3 separate regions of the Homo sapiens genome follow, and regions 2 and 3 are each linked to region 1. The links are contacts of gene promoters, found by promoter capture Hi-C in human tissues and cell types (Jung and others, 2019). All regions are on one chromosome and are shown on one strand. Each heading gives the region's core, a stretch centred on a gene start or on the middle of the fragment in contact. The rest is flanking DNA. Distances are from core to core; before and after follow the strand shown.

What was found. Contacts are between HindIII fragments. The study calls those that stand out against the background at their distance.
Region 2: a fragment that was not itself captured here is called in contact with the fragment with the promoter of RASL11B in region 1 in 2 of the 25 tissues and cell types used here (H1 embryonic stem cells and mesendoderm cells).
Region 3: a contact is called between a fragment that was not itself captured here and the fragment with the promoter of RASL11B in region 1, in 2 of the 25 tissues and cell types used here (mesendoderm cells and thymus).

The regions. Positions count from the first base shown.
Region 1 is chr4:52,860,877-52,863,576 of GRCh38, reverse strand. It overlaps RASL11B (RAS like family 11 member B), which reads right to left and starts at 1,260. Exons shown (of 4, transcript NM_023940.3): 1 at 928-1,260; 2 at 253-309. The coding sequence starts at 1,069. It overlaps LOC124900700 (a long non-coding RNA gene), which reads left to right and starts at 1,372. Exons shown (of 2, transcript XR_007058115.1): 1 at 1,372-1,493; 2 at 1,846-2,428. RefSeq lists silencers at 941-1,235, 1,207-1,696. The HindIII fragment of the contact is 6,378 bases long and covers 1-2,700 here.
Region 2 is chr4:52,341,529-52,344,228 of GRCh38, reverse strand. All of the region lies in intron 1 of LOC107986279 (a long non-coding RNA gene), which reads right to left. Among named protein-coding and RNA genes, the nearest start is that of SPATA18, 290 kb to the right of the region's middle. The HindIII fragment of the contact is 5,584 bases long and covers 1-2,700 here.
Region 3 is chr4:52,250,429-52,253,128 of GRCh38, reverse strand. No RefSeq gene overlaps it. Among named protein-coding and RNA genes, the nearest start is that of SPATA18, 200 kb to the right of the region's middle. The HindIII fragment of the contact is 4,064 bases long and covers 1-2,700 here.

The DNA.
Region 1 (2,700 bases), core at 11-2,510:
ATAGTTAAAACATACCAAGGGGAATACTTTCAGGCACTTGATAAAATGATGAATGGGCTTGGAATGGAATGAGGCCAGATGGTAGTTATGGGAGGGGGGCGCCATGGAGGGCTGGGGACTGGGGAAAGTTTTAAGTGGCGGGATCCTCAGGCTCGGACTGTCACTGAAAGAACCTCCCTGGGAAGCGCTGGAAAATGGGAACCGCAGTCCTCCTGCAATGGGACAGAATTTTTCTCAAATGCATTGTCTCACCTGCATTTCTTTCATAGTCACCGATGAATCGTTTGGTGAGGAACCGGACCACCAGTGCTGCACGTCAGAAAAAAGAACGTCAAAGTGTTAACCTTGGAAGTTAGATTGTTCTCCACCCCACCCCCTGCCTGGAAAACAGTTCTCCCAAAGAAAGCCATAGATGGCCACCAAGTGAAATTCCTACCCTGTAGCTCCTTGACCCTTCTTTCCAGACAAAAAGGAGGGGGCTAGAAGGCATCGTGAATTATGGCTCTGTGCAGCTGGAAGGCTCACTGGGCCCACCCCCTCCTCTGAGCCCGGCTGAGCCACACCTAAGCCTTCCAGTAGACCCATGTCTTCCTAACCTTCAAGACCTCCCAGGGGGGCTAGCTTCACTAACTCCCCTTTCTGTGCCAGGCATTGCCAGAGGCTCAAACACCCCAAAGTTCTGATGGCGGCGGTGCCGGTGGTCCCCAGAAAGCTGCCTGGCCATTCTTGATCCTTGTTTCCCCCGTCTGTGGAAGCAGGCGGGTGGCGTAGACAACGGCTAAGCCCACTCCCAAGGGGCAGCGGCTCCCTGCGCGGGGACGGAGAGCGGTCGGGCTGCAGCTCCCACCGCTCCCCACGCCTTGTTCAGCCTCAACTCCCGTCAGGGGTCGTCCAAGACCAGACCCAGGGCTAAGCGCGACGACTCACCGGTCTTGCCCACGCCGCTGGCGCCCACCACGGCGATCTTGACCAGGCGGCGGCCGGCGGCGCCCACACAGCAGTCGGAGGCCGCGGCGTTGCCCGGCGCGGGGTACTCGGCGATGGTGCACATGTTCTGAATGAGGCGCATCGCCTCGGCTGCGGCGCACCGCGCGGGAAGGGACTGAGGGACTGGAGAATGCTAGCGCTGCGCGGGAGCGGGCGGGAGGACCCGACTGCGGGGCTCCGCGGTAAGAAATAACAACAATAAATAAGTGCAGGTACGGGCGGGGTGGGGCCGAGCGCCGAGGTTCCGCAGGGCTCAGGCTCCAGACCCAGACTGCACTCGCGCGGCGCGCCGGCTGTTTTCTCCGCGGCCGGCCCCGCCCCCTCTCCCCACAGCCAATCCCGGGGCGCCCTACACGAGGCCCCGCCCCCGGCGCCGCTCCGCGCGCGCGACGCCCCCGGAGGCGCCTGGAGTCAGTGCGGAGCCCCGTGAGGCGCGGGGAGAAGAGGCAGCGGGCGGAGGGGAGCAGCGGGTGGTCCGAGGCGGCGCAGCCCAGGGTGGGCGCCTGGTAGGTCCTGCCGCGCGAGCATGGGGCAGCTGCTGTGGCTGCGGGGCCAGGAAGAGAGCGCAGCCTCCACAGAGCCATTCCGGACCGCTGCCTCCGCCGGCTCCACAGCCCACGCGCGCACTCGCTGCAGCCCCAACCTAGGGCGTCTGCTCTGGGCGGGCCGGGAGCGGTGTTTGCTCCCCGGCTTAGTGCCGCCCGCCCTGATTTGGAGCGATTGCACTGGCTTGGGTACATCCCAGCTCATAGATTCAGCTACAGTTGGCAATCATCCGCAAAGACTCCAGCCTAAGACCTTTAGACCCCCGTAAAATGTGACATTTGAAGCAAAAATATCATCCACGTTTTATCCTAGACCCACGTTCTCTGGCTCTTGTCGACGGCGCAAGCTAACGCAAACACACATGGTCGGACGCATGCACAGCACGCCTAGAAGCGGATCAAGAAGTAATTATAGAACAAGCTTTCCAGCGCCTCACTCAGTCACACCTCCTTCAAGAGCTGTGAAATGGAAAGAAAACAGTTACTCCAGCTGCGACGTCTGAAGGGGCCCCGCACTTCGTCCCTGGTCATAAGACACCGCAAGAGTTTAGTTAAGTGGCTTGATACCAAGGAAGAGGTGGGCCCTGCACTCCTAAAATCCCAAGCTCCGGCCCCTTACAGTCTCATCTGAGAAACACATCTTCAACGGCAGGCCAAATTCCTCCTGCGAGCAACATTCTGTAGCTGCAGCTGATGGCAAGATGTCACCAGCGGCTGATGGCAAAATGTCACCAGAGTCGCGGGTTAACCACCCCATCCGCTATCCAAGGCCCTCTCCCCGCTACCCTTTCAACCTTGTCCCAGAGGCTTTTATGTTGGGGTATGGCAACAAACTCTGTGGCTTTGTGTACCCACCCACATTAAAGGCTAAAATGTGAAATAAACCAGTGCCCTTATCCGCACATGTCAGTCATCTAATTTGACCCCCTCTTCCAGCCAGAACTTAATTGACCAGGTATTTGACAGAATTTTATGATCCTCAGCCAGTTCAGACTCTGAGATGAACCTCTTGTCTACAGAGGTTTAGGTGTTTGCAGGAATGCAAGGAGAAATAGAAAGGTAATCTCAAGGTAGCAAGTTTTCTAGGATGGGCCACGTAATTAGAAAGACACACAACCTTACAATAAACATAATAAAAGGCTGACTTCTAGGGAGATCACTAGAACGA
Region 2 (2,700 bases), core at 62-2,561, 520 kb after region 1:
TTTTAACTCTTAGGGAAGACCCAAGGAGAAAATATAATGAGGTATGTCTGACCTCCCATCCCATCATGGCTGGGAACTCAGTTTTCAAGGTTTCTCTGGGGTCCCTTTGGCCAACATGGTGTTCATTCAATTTGTTGGGGGCCTTAGGATTTCATTTTCCTACCATGGGTAGGACATTTCATTGTCCATTTTGAAAAATGACTGGGTATTCTTCAAAAGAAATATGTATAGTAGGAGAACAGAGGTCAGCATTGCATGCCAATAAGATGTACATCTGGATGTAAATCCATGAATATGAAATTGTAAGTTCAGTGGTCATTATTTGAAAGAGGCTATGAGGGGAGAGCAAGCCCAATGGCTCAATTGTGGAAGTTTACTGCTGATATCCAACTAAATAGCAGAATGAATGAGATATTATAATGCAAATTAAGCACATACACATGAACAAACACAATTAGCAAGAAGGAGTGGTGATGGGGGCCCTCAGCTATGCAGATCCCTGCAGGAAGTCTTGGTCTGCTCGAAGATTATTAGGCAAATTCTTGATTACCATGTTGAAAATGTGAACTCTCTCAGAAGTCAGGAATAATCAGGGAAATGGTAACTGTTTACTTGGTGCCAATCAAAAATTTAAAATTGACCACGGAAGTAAAAGTGAGTCTGGAAAGAAAATTCTCCTTCCACCATGATTATAAGTTTCCCGAGGCCTCTTAACAGGCTTCCTGTTAAGCCTGCAGAATTTTGAGTCAATTAAACCTCTATTCTTCATAAATTATCCAGTCTCATGTAGTTCTTTATAGCAGTGTGAAAATAGACTAATACAAAAAATGGGTACCAGGAAAGTGGGACATTGTTATAAAGATAACTGAAAATGAGGAAACGGCTTTAGAACTGGGTAATGGGCAGAGGTTGGAACAGTTTGGAGCACTCAGAAGCCGGAAGATGTGGGAAAGTTTGGAACTTTCTAGAGACTTGCTGAATGGTTGTGACCAAAATGATAACACTCATGTGGACAGTGAAATCCAGGGTGAAGTGGTCTCATATGGAGATAAGGAACTTATTGAGAACTGTAGTAAAGGTCACTCTTGCTTTGCTTTAGCAAAGAGACTGGTGGCATTTTGCCCCTACCCTAGAGATCTGTGGAACTTTGTACTTGAGAGAGATGATTTAGGATATCTGGCAAGAGAAATTTCTAGGCAGCAAGGCATTGAAGATGTGGCCTGACTGCCCCTATCAGTGTAAGTTGTGAAAGGAAGGTAAATCTTGGGGCCCCAAAATTACTAAGTTAAAAAGTGAAAAGTCAAGCTGGGAACTACTTAGGGCAAACCTGACTCCCATTCTATTTAAAGTTATCTCTCTGCTCACTGAGGTAAATGCATACCTGATTGCCACCTTTGGAAAGGCTAATCAGAAACAAAAAAATACAACGGTTTGTCTCTCATCTACCTGTGACCTGGAAGCACCCTCCCTACTTGAGTTGTTCTGCCTTTCTGGACTGAACCAATGTACATTTTACATATATTGATTGATGTCTCATGTCTCCATAAAATGTATATAACCAAGCTGTGTCCCGACCACCTTGGGCACATGTCATCAGGACCTCCTGAGGCTGTGTCATGGGTGAGTGTTCTCAATCTTGGCAAAATAAACTTTCTAAATTAACTGAGACCTATCTCAGTTACTCAGGGTTCACATAGTCATACGTATTTACAAAGAGATGGTCTGAAATTAGAACTTATGTTTAAAAGGAAAGCAGAGCATAACAGTTTGGAAAATTTGCAGCCTGACGGCTGCAGAAATTTGCATAACTAAAGAGAAGCTGAATGTTAATAGCCAAGACAATAGGGAAAATGTCTCCAGGATATTTCAGAGATCTCTGCTGAGCTCCTCCCATCACAAGCCCTGAGGCTTGGGGAAAAAATTACCTTCATGGTCCAGTCCCAGAGCCCAGTCGCTCTGTGAAGCCTCAGGATATGATACCCTGTATCCCAGCTGCTCCAGCTCCCACTGTAGACTAAAAGGGGCCAAGGTACAACTTAGTTCATTGATTCAGGGGATGCAAGCCCCAAGACTTGGTGGCTTCCACGTGCTGTTGGGTCTCTCTCTCTCTCTCTCTCTCTGTGTGTGTGTATGTGTGTGTGTGCAGAAAGCTAGTGTTGAGGTTGGGGAATCTCCACCTAGATTTCACAGGATGTATGGAAATACCTGGATGTCCATGCAGAAGTCTGTTGCAGGGGCAGAGCCCTCATGAAAAACCTCCAGTAGGGCAGTGTGGAGGGGAAATGTGGGGTTGGATCCCTCAAACAGAGTCCCCACTGGAGCACTGCCTAGTGGAGCTGTGGGAAGAGGGCCACTGCCCTCCAGGTCCCAGAATGGTAGATCAACTGACAGCTTGCACCATGTGCCTGCAGGCAATCAATGTCAGCCCATACAAACAGCTGCAGGGACTGTACCCTGAAGAGCCATAGGGGCAGAGCAGCCTAAGGCCTTGGAGCCCACCCCTTACATGAGTGGAGCCTGGATGTGAAACATGGAGTCAAAGGAGATTATTTCAGAGCTTTAAGATTTAATGACTGCCCTGCTGGCTTTCACACCTGCATGGGGCCTGTAGCCCCTTTGTTTTGGCTAATTTCTCCCATTTGGAATGGGAGCATTTATTCAATGCCTGTGCCCCCATTGTATCTTGGAAGTCACTAACTT
Region 3 (2,700 bases), core at 199-2,698, 610 kb after region 1:
CAGACAGCTGAAAACTCCACGCTGGGATCATGCTAATGCCACCATTGTTTGAACATGGGACCCATGAAGGATCAGGAAGCTCAGTTATGCATGCATGTATGTCTCCTTTCACAAATATTCGTGACTCCTCCTGTAGCTTATTGAATATGCATATTTTTGTCAACCTGCTCAGAATTAATCTCTGTCTTATTCTCAACCTCGGAGTACCTGTTTTTGGCTCCTAGCTGGAGCATATACTTCCCAGCCTGTCAGAACGACCACCCTGCAGGCTGCCATCCTTTGTGAAAAATAAAGCTGTCCTTTTATTTATGAACCTTGTCATTCTTCAGCTGACTATAGATATAAGAGGAAATTTATTATGGAAATTGGCTCATGCAACTACAAAGGCTGAGAAGTCCCACAATCTGCAAGCTGGAAAACCAGGGAAGCTAGAGGTACAATTAAGTCTGAGACCAGAGGCCTGAGAACCAGGGGACCTGATGGTATAAGGAGGTCTGCGAACTGGGGTGCCTGCTGCTGTAAGTCCCAGTGCCAAAGGCCCAAGACCTGGAGTTCTGATGTCTGAGGGCAGAAAAAGATGGAAGAGGCCCCCTCAAGGGGAGAGAGACAGAGAGAATGTGCCCTTCCTCTGCCTTTAGCTCTATCAGGTCCTCAGTAGATTGGTTGATGCTCACCTACCTTGGTGAGGGCAGATCTTCTTTACTCAAACCTACTGACTCAAATGCTAATCTCTTCTGGAAACATCCTAAGACCAGTTCCACCCAAAGCCCAAATGTGTCCAACCAAACCACCTTCCTGCCTATCTGCCCTTTCTTTGATAATAAATCTGAAACCAACTCATGTCCCATAGAACTGATGGTTATGATTCCTTTGAATAAACATAGAAATTGATCCTCCCAGTCTTAAAACTTAAGAAAGCTTAATTTTTCTTATCTGAGTTCCTTTCTCAGAAAACCAACCATCAGGACTCCTAGATAGTATCAAGGAGCTGAAACTCATTAGATCACTGCATTTGGACAATGAGACATCAGATCCCTCACCCGTCATGATTGCCTAACTGACCATCTGCTTCCTATTGACCAACTCCTCTTCCTTACCCTGCCCTTATTCCTGTCTTCCCACACATGGTTACATTTCTTCCCTGCTATTTAAACCCGCAATTTTAGTCAGGCAGGGAGATGGATTTGAGACTGATCTTTCATCTCCTTGGCTACAGGACCTGATTAAAGATTTCTTCCTTTGCAATACTCATTGCCTCAGTGATTGTCTTTCTGTGAAGCCAGCAGTAGGACCTAGACCAAACTCCTGGTGTTTTGGTAACACACCCATTAAGCCTTATCCTTCCTTCTCTGTGCTCTTTTTTAGTGAAAAAAAAAAAAAAAAAAAAAAGCCTACTCCAAAATGCACACTCCTTTATAGCCTACTAATCATTTAAAGGGTGAGAAGGAATAGTCATACAAGCTCTCAGATAAGTCACATTTGGCTCCTTCTTCCATGATCTCTGTACCCCATACCTGAGAGAAGAGGAAGGCAATGGCGAGTTAACTTTACTTTTCAGTTCCTCTTAGACCCACTGCTTCTTGATCTCTTTCCTCCTTCTTTCATTTTCCTAGGAGGGTTATCTCTGAAAGAGATTTACCTCATAAAATTAGACCCTAAGAAAGTGGGAGAGGCCAAGCGCGATGGATCACGCCTGTAATACCAGCTTTTTGGGAGGCCGAGGTGGGTGGATCACCTGAGGTCAGGAGTTTGAGACCAGCCTGACCAAGATGGCAAAACCCCATCTCTACTAAAAATACAAAAAGTTAGCCAAATGTGGTGGTGGGCACCTGTAATTCCAGCTACTTGGGAGGCTGAGGCAGGAGAATCACTTGAACCCGGGAGGCAGAGGTTGCAGTGAGCCAAGATCACACTATTGTACGCTATCCTGGGCGACAGAGTGAGACTCTGTGTCAGAAAAAAAAAAAAAAAAAAGAAGTGGCAGAGAGGAAGCACACTGACTTGAAAATCATCTAAGGATTCCTCTAAGTGTACAGTCTTTTAAAATATATAGAACAATATAACAAGTGTATAAGTAGACATGTTTAAAACCAATATTCTATTAATATATTTAAAATTCCATTTTTGTTTTAATTTAAATTACATTAGTATATTATAATGTCACATGTTTACAGCTGTATATTCTTAATTCCATATTAATAGTTGTGTGACACTAATAGCTACTTAAGGAAATAGCTCTCTGTCAAAGCTTTATAACATTTTGTCCTATTATGAAGATGACTCTTGTCATCCTCTTCCATTGTCCTTATCTCATCCCAGTCCTTTCATCTTCTTTTGCTACATGAATTCCTCCAGAGGACCACTTTGTTCACTGCTTTATAGTAATTAATTGACTAATTTCAAAGACAGGAGAAAAATAGATTTATTTTGCCTTCCAACTGAGGGTACAGAATGGACCAGGAGGAATCCCAAACTCATTTTCTATGTGAGCACTTATGTGCATGTCTCATTCATTGGGAACCTAGCCCCATGAGGCTCCAGCTTTAGAGCAATTAACAGGATACAGATGGAACAAGTGCTAACCTTGCCTCCAAAACCACACAGAGTGGGGCCTTAAGAAAAACCCTGGGGTGGTTTTGGAGCACCCTGCTGGCATGGAAGCCTGGAGACCAACCTTTGTGAAGAATGAAGGTTGCCACT